Linked DNA regions of Homo sapiens: region 1 is linked to region 2. The links are contacts of gene promoters, found by promoter capture Hi-C in human tissues and cell types (Jung and others, 2019). All regions are on one chromosome and are shown on one strand. Each heading gives the region's core, a stretch centred on a gene start or on the middle of the fragment in contact. The rest is flanking DNA. Distances are from core to core; before and after follow the strand shown.

What was found. Contacts are between HindIII fragments. The study calls those that stand out against the background at their distance.
Region 1: a fragment that was not itself captured here is called in contact with the fragment with the promoter of DLX1 in region 2 in 4 of the 25 tissues and cell types used here (H1 embryonic stem cells, adrenal gland, heart right ventricle and 1 more).

The regions. Positions count from the first base shown.
Region 1 is chr2:171,809,559-171,813,357 of GRCh38, forward strand. It overlaps SLC25A12 (solute carrier family 25 member 12), which reads right to left. Exons shown (of 18, transcript NM_003705.5): 11 at 3,781-3,799; 12 at 666-718; 13 at 48-128. Among named protein-coding and RNA genes, the nearest start is that of SLC25A12, 83 kb to the right of the region's middle. The HindIII fragment of the contact is 4,001 bases long and covers 1-3,706 here.
Region 2 is chr2:172,083,022-172,087,128 of GRCh38, forward strand. DLX1 (distal-less homeobox 1) reads left to right here and starts at 2,486. Exons shown (of 3, transcript NM_178120.5): 1 at 2,486-2,969; 2 at 3,633-3,832. The coding sequence starts at 2,657. RefSeq lists enhancers at 906-1,519, 1,520-2,131, 2,132-2,745, 2,595-2,714, 2,746-3,357 and 1 more and a silencer at 2,205-2,314. The HindIII fragment of the contact is 6,806 bases long and covers 1-4,107 here.

The DNA.
Region 1 (3,799 bases), core at 456-2,955, 270 kb before region 2:
TCAACGGAATGTATTTGTCACAAGAAGCGCCTAACAGTAATACTTACACAGCCTCCAGCAAGAACTTCTGCTGGAAGTGGAACAGAGCCATCTCTTCTGGTAAATTTGTCCCGAACAAAATCATTAACCTAATTAGAAAGACAACATCAGTTAACCAAAATTCCCAACCATTTCTCTTCTGGCATACTGTTGCTTTTCCAAGTCAGCAAAATATTTGTCTTATGATAAAATTTAAAATTATCAAATGCTTACATGTAAAATTAAAGTTGTACAAATTCTGCGACAGTGTGCCAGTGTCAGCAGCATCAATTTTAGTTTTGTTTTTGAGACAGGGTCTCACTCTGTTGCTCAGGCTGGAGTGCAGTGGCATGATCATAGCTCACTACAGCCTCAAATTCCTGGACTCAAGCAATCCTCCCACATCAGCCTCCTGGCATAAATCACCACACTTGGCTAATTTTTAATTTTGTTGTTGTTGTTGTTGTTTTGGTAGAGCTGAGTTCTTACTATGCTTATGCTGGTTTAGAACTGGTCTCAAGTGATCCTCCCACCACCCAAAATGCTGAGATTATAGGCATGAGCTACCACGCCTAGCCTTGATTTTAGCTTTTTGGCTTAATGGTAATCTAAACAAATGACATAAATTCAGTTAGAGATAAACTTACAGTCAGTTTAATGGCCTTTTCTGGAGCAACCCCTATAAGTTGTGGTATCAGACCTAGGTAAAGGGACAGAATCATCAGCAATATAGCTGTACCAGACATGAATACACAAGCCCAGCAACAAAGAGTTTCCCCCATATTATTTACCCATCAAACATTGCAGAGTTTTCATTAAAATGGGAAAAAGATTATCCTTAAAACTCTGTATACATATGTAATAATTATTTACAAATGCAGTATAATGTCACGTTTTCTTGAGGCTATAAATCCTCTTCTTAAGCATGCTTACTTTAAAGCCTAGTTATCCAACACTTCCCAAAAAGTCCATGAAGAAGAAACGGAGCCATGCGTCTTCTCTATTCTGGGAACACTGCCAATAACAATGTAACCAAATTCCCTCCCTTATTACAACCAACAACATATAAACATACACAGATACTGTACACTTGGAAAAGCTCTGAAAAGCATGCTGTTAAGCATACCCAGATTTTGCTACCTACATAATGGCATACAGTGGCTTCGTTATTATAGAATACTAACTCCCATAATCTTCTCTTCAGAGAAACACAGCATTCAATATTCATTTATTTAAAAGGAAGCCAAAACTGCAAAGAAAAATGCAGTTTTAAGTATTGTTTAACGAGTATCTCCTATAAGCAAAAACATATGCCTGTTGTATTCTTATTGACTAATATATGTCAAGCTTAAGACATTTTAAAAGAATCCCCTCAAAACAAAGGAAATCATAATCCTTAGAAAGTTAAATTCCCCAGGCTGGTTGTAAACTGGAAAAGAAAAAAATAAACAATTCAACATCTGTTGGGCTCAGCTTTCTAAAGCACACAGCTTATCCAAATTGTTAGCATACTTTTTTGCATACATTTTTTAAAGATGCTAACAATAAACATTTTATATCCTTTAAATCATCCAGCCAAAGGGGAGTTATATATGTGTTTGCCTGCTTGCTGACTGCTGATCTTAAGCCTGCTTTGAGGATACTGCTGAGTTCCATAAGTTGAGAGCCACAAGTAATCATACATATAGGCTACTGTCAGTCAGGCTGAATTATCAATGATACACACAAAGCCTCACACACCTTTCATGCGTAGCAGACTGATTTAAAAGAACAAATCAGCAGATGGCAGTATTAACTTTCTAACCCTCGTGATTATCAGGCTCTATTACTTTTAATCTAACTCCCATACAACCATGTCAGCATGCATATTTGTTTTACAACTCGCCTCAATAAGGCTCATGGAATTTAATAAAGTACTGATTTGTGTCATTTTATCATTGTTGCCTGCGAAGAAATTTAGCTAATCTGTCAACAATTTTGTCAATCATCTGACAGAATAATGGACCAGTTGCAAGCAATATATGACAATCTCAATAATCATAGTGCTCACATACAGGACTCCTACAATCTTCTCCCTAATACAAAAGTCTCTCATTTAAAGAACTGCTTTTATGAGCTTACATCCTGAATAAAACCAACAATCCCCTCCCCTACTTGCTATATTGCATCCATTTAATAAACATGACATCTCTCTCAAATGAAATCTTCTGTAAGCATCTATCCATTGAGAAGGCTAAACTATGCAGTAAATATCTAGGTTCCTTTTAATAGGGGACATTTTCTTTGCAATTTAAAAGTATACCAAAGAGGAGAAAGGTCATTATTCAACAAAGAAATATTGGAGATATCAAGGAAAAAAACAACCTTAATGCCACTCAACCTTGATTCCCCATTAAATAAAATCTGGATATGCAGGGTTTAATCAGTTAAAACAAGCATTCACATGGAAAGGTCTGCATTCTGGATATTGTACGCCTTTCCACAGGGTACATGCTGTACAGGTGGAATTCAAAGAGACTACAGTTCTGAATATTTGAGGAAAACTCATCACATTCATTCTCAAGAGCAGGGTACTTGAGCCTAGTTTGATTTCGGAATAACTCTCTCCTATTATTCTATATATAATGCTAAAAATGAACATCCTTGTGACCCTCTACTTCAATTATGAGTTTATCGGAGTTATATTTTTTGCTTGAATACCTGTATATAATGCTAACCAGCGGTGTTTTTTTCCTCCTGTCCATGAGCATAAAGCTCTGTTCGGGCCCAGTCTTTCTTAGGAAGATTTCTAAGCCAAATAGTTCAACAGAGCTCAGAATAGGCTAGGGATTAATGAGCTTGTATGTGCAAACAAACAAGTACAGTAAATTACATAAATGGCATGGACTTGAGCATGTAGAGAGTATTTTCATAGAATCCCAAGTGGCGCCCAAAGAGATTAAAAAATTAATCTCCCTCCCAAAGGAAACCCTATATTCTAATGTGAAAACACATACATGAAAGTCATTCTCTCTCCAAAGAGACAAGTTCCTACAAAGACAACGGGGGGTGGGGAAAATTCTGCATGGGGCGCAGTGCTGCCTCTGATGCCAACTGCACTGTGCTCAGTCTAGAGTGGCTGCTAACATTCCCTGCGAAAGAAAATCTCTCTGTTTTGACTGTACACCTCTGAGCTAAGTGGGGGAAAGAAGCAAGAATTAGACTTGGAACCAAAGGGTTTTCCTTTTTTTTTTTTTTTTTAAACCTTCAGATGGCTCATTGGAAAAAATTTATAAATGGTCCCTGAAAGAGACAAAAACATTTGATATTTATTTCAGTTGAAATAAATATATGGAGGGTAAACTCATCTTTGAGTGGTAACCTGGATTCTTTTTCACAGGAAAGAGATGTATTTCTCCTCTTTAATTCTTTGAGAAAAGCAGCTCTATATTTCTTAACTATCATCCTTGTATTCCACCTGCAGATATGTGCCTTGGTTTGTAGGAGCATGGTGACATAGACCCATGTTGGGACAAACACATAATTTGGACACCAAGAAATATAAACCACAAGAAGAAGAAATGAAGACCTTATTTGCAGATTAATATTGCTAATCACCAGAAAGAATGCAAAAAGGGAAATGAGCAAAGAGAAAATAAAAAGAGAGAAACAGACCTAGTCTGGCTAGGCATACTACATATTGGCTTCCATAATTAGTGAGTTAAAATCTGCTGCTGGTGAGATCAAATCACTAACTTCAGCAGCTGGGATTTGCTTACTCACCCCTGTAGAGTCCAAAGAA
Region 2 (4,107 bases), core at 1,236-3,735:
ACTTTTGTTCCAAGAAGGCAACCAGGTCCCCTGTGCTACCGCAAAAGTCTTTGATCCTTTTCCAGCTGTGGACACAGAGCACCCAAGAGACTGTCGCGATGTGCGGCCGTCTCTCCCCTTCCCCCACCTTGCAAGTCTCTGGAATACACTGTCCCTAGGCGGCCCGGCCGTCGGGTTTCCTCACGCCTTGCCCTGAGCTCCGGGAATTACCAATTCCGCTTTCCCCGGTCCCAACCCCGACCCCGCGCCCGCCGCGGCGATCACTTACTTGGGCAAGGCCCTCAGGGCACGCGCGAGAGACCTGGGGCCCGGCAGTATCCGAGCGACTGTGCTGGGCACACGGCGTGGCACTCCATACCCTAAAACAGGCACTAGGAAGGAGCAATTAAAACCACAAGTGCGACACAGAAATCAGGACGAGCCGAGCGGCTCCCGGAGTTGCCTGGTGGCGGAATCATTAGCTGGCTGTTGCTACAAAGCCTCACCGTGTGGTTCGGTGATTAAGAAAAAAAAAATCTTTTAAACGTTGGCAAACCCGTTATTGGTTTGGCGTATTGGGTTTTTTTTGCTTTTGCTTTTCTTTTTGCTCCAACCACTCTGCCTGAAATATTTCTGCCCCCAGCATTGTGCCCTTAAACCAAAGGAGAGGAATTCTGCGGGCAGCAGCAGCTGGTACAGAAGTTAAAAAAAAAGAGAAACCCCCTCTACTAATATCTGTAACGACAGCACCGATGTAATTTGTTTTGAATGTTCATTTTTATTGGTGTTCCCTCTGCCAAAATGTGCTTGATTACAGAGGTTTGTCCTGTGATCATTGCACACTCCAGACAGGGGAAGGTGCAGCGATGAAGGTTCAGCTCAGGCCAGATCAAATCCCGGGCTGTTTAACGCTGAAAGGCTGCATGTTGCTATTAGTGTTAAATATATGGCTAATTATGCGTATGAAAATTAAACATCAGTGTTATGCTAATGGGGCGCCTTCAGCTGCGGATCTGAGCACTTGAGACTACCATTTAATCAAATGAATCAGTAACTAATACATCTGCACGTGTGAACTTTCACAAGATCATTTCCCCGTTCCCGTCACACCGCTAAATTATGAAAGAAATAATTATCAACACTTTCTAATTACCTAACAAAGTAATTTGGGATTCACCGTGGGGCTGGCGGGATGGGGAACCAACATCCACTTACAGCCAGGGTGGTGTACGCCACACCGCGAGGGACTGGCTGTATTGGTAGTAGTGGCGATGGGGTGGGGGCTCTTGTGCACTTTTTTGTACCTAGCACCCCAGAAGACAGAAGGAGCAGCGGCAGATCTTGCCTCCACTAGCCCTGCCCCCTAGGCCTGGTGGCGCGCGCTTTGGCCACTGGAGGTGAGGAAGATCCTGGGTGGCAACGAGAGACGTCTACACATAGATAAGGGAGCCTACCACAGGCCTGGGTTTGCTGCGGGTTTCGGTGTCCCCCAGGGACTCCTAAACTCTGGAAGTCGCGCTAGACCTCAGGAGGCCGGAAAATGACCACCTGGCGTCGGTGGCTCCAGCAGATCTGAGCCCCTAGGCCCCCTGGGCTCCACGCTGAGCCGCGCTCTCGGGGCGAGTGAGCCCGGGGCTCTCCGCGCATGGGGAGTGGAGAAGGGAGGGGGAGGAGGAGGAAGGCTGGGAGGGAAAGAGGATGTGTGTGTTGGGGGAGGGGGCGGTGCAGCCGCCTTTCCTGGGAGGAGAAGCGCGGGTTCCTGGCTCTCCACGCGCACTGCTTTAATCAGACCCGTGCAGCCTCGAGCTGGAGTGGCCAGCTGGGCCTGGAGCAATGCGAGCGGGCCCCAGGGAGCGACAGCGGCGTTGGCGCAGCGGCCGAGTGAGTGAGTTCGCAGGGAGGGCCCCTAAGCCCCGACTCCAGGGATGCGGCAGAGCGTACCGGGGAGGCGCGGCCGGATAGGCGCTGCGCTAGGCACAAGGCTCTTAGGAGAACCTCTGTCTGTTGGCCGCCTCGGGCGCCCCCAGTGCGCGACTCCGCGCTCCAGAGGCAGAGGTCAGTCTCCTCCTGAGCCGCCCTAGCTCTGCGCCGAACTGAGTGGCAGCGACGAGAAGCGGTCCCGGGTGTCCGGTGTTAGGGACCGCTGAAGGGTGGGGACAGTGGTAGGGGGGCGGCGGCGCGGAGCCGCTGGTTGGTTCCTGGGGAGGAAAGCGCGCGAGGGAGGCGGGAGGCCGATGAGCCGCGGGCCGCAGGGGCCCCGGCGCAGACGCCGCAGCCCATTGTGCTTCCTGCCCGGCGCGCTCTGTTGCAGAGGAGCCCCGGCCGGGAAGTGTGGATGCGTCTTACCCGAGGCCGGGCCGCCTCGCCCGCTCTAGTCCAGCGGAGCCCGAGCGCCTCGGACCAATCCCCAGTGATTATGCAAGACAGCGGACCAATCAGCTCCGCCAGCTCATGAATATTTATGACCTTCGCTGAGTCAAAGCTTTGAACCGAGTTTGGGGAGCTCAGCAGCATCATGCTTAGACTTTTCAAAGAGACAAACTCCATTTTCTTATGAATGGAAAGTGAAAACCCCTGTTCCGCTTAAATTGGGTTCCTTCCTGTCCTGAGAAACATAGAGACCCCCAAAAGGGAAGCAGAGGAGAGAAAGTCCCACACCCAGACCCCGCGAGAAGAGATGACCATGACCACCATGCCAGAAAGTCTCAACAGCCCCGTGTCGGGCAAGGCGGTGTTTATGGAGTTTGGGCCGCCCAACCAGCAAATGTCTCCTTCTCCCATGTCCCACGGGCACTACTCCATGCACTGTTTACACTCGGCGGGCCATTCGCAGCCCGACGGCGCCTACAGCTCAGCCTCGTCCTTCTCCCGACCGCTGGGCTACCCCTACGTCAACTCGGTCAGCAGCCACGCATCCAGCCCCTACATCAGTTCGGTGCAGTCCTACCCGGGCAGCGCCAGCCTCGCCCAGAGCCGCCTGGAGGACCCAGGTACGTGCGCTTGCCAGGGAGAGGGAGAGGAGGAGGTACAAGGGAGAGAGGGAAAGAAGGAGCGGGGGAGAAGAGGAGAGGGAGAGAGAGAGAAAGAGAAGAGAGGAGAGCGAGGTGGGGTGGGGGTGGGGAGGGCGCGGGAGCAGTGGAGGTTTCGAATATCAATCTATAGATCCTTGTCACAGCAAATAAATTTTTTTAAAAATTCCCTCAATTTGCAACTATCCAGCCAAGGATAAATCCCAGAGCGTCTCCTGGCACTGGCTGGGCCTCTGGGCGGCTCGGTGTGCAGAGCACACAATGCCCCGCTGGAAAACAGAAACCCACATGTGCACGTATTAGTCTCGGTAATTATTTATTGCGTAGCGCTATAAACAATGTATGCAATTAAGGGTAATTAAACCTCAACTACCGCCTGCAAAAATAGCAAACTTTCCCTGCAAAGGCAGGAGCTGAGCTCCTGGGAACGGCTCTATCCCTCCTGCAGCGTCCCGGGACAGGCCCTCGGATTTTGGGGGACCCTTCCCTGGCTTTCAGAGTTTCTTGAACGTTCTCTCCCTGGTGCTGCCTCCGCCACCCTTCGGTAGCCACTCGCTCTCGGCTGTTCGCACTAAAGGCGGCCCCTCGTATTAACAACGGGCCCTACTTCTGCTGTCCCTCCAGGGGCGGACTCGGAGAAGAGCACGGTGGTGGAAGGCGGTGAAGTGCGCTTCAATGGCAAGGGAAAAAAGATCCGTAAACCCAGGACGATTTATTCCAGTTTGCAGTTGCAGGCTTTGAACCGGAGGTTCCAGCAAACTCAGTACCTAGCTCTGCCGGAGAGGGCGGAGCTCGCGGCCTCTTTGGGACTCACACAGACTCAGGTACCTCGCCGCTGCCGCTCCGTTCTGCCACGCAGGCTTTCCGCGGCCGGCCTGCGCCCGGGTCTTCATTTGTTGCTCGCTGGGACTCAGGGTCGGGGTGTCACTGTGTGTATGTGTTTGTGTCCACCCCTGGCTCTCAGCGTGTCTCCTTCCTCCCTCATTCCCTCTGCCCTAGCTCTGTCACTGCTCTCGGTATCCCGAGCTGCCTGCCGTCCGGCCCTCTGTCCCTGGACAATCTGATTAGGGCGCAGGAAGGATTTCCCCAGACGATTTGT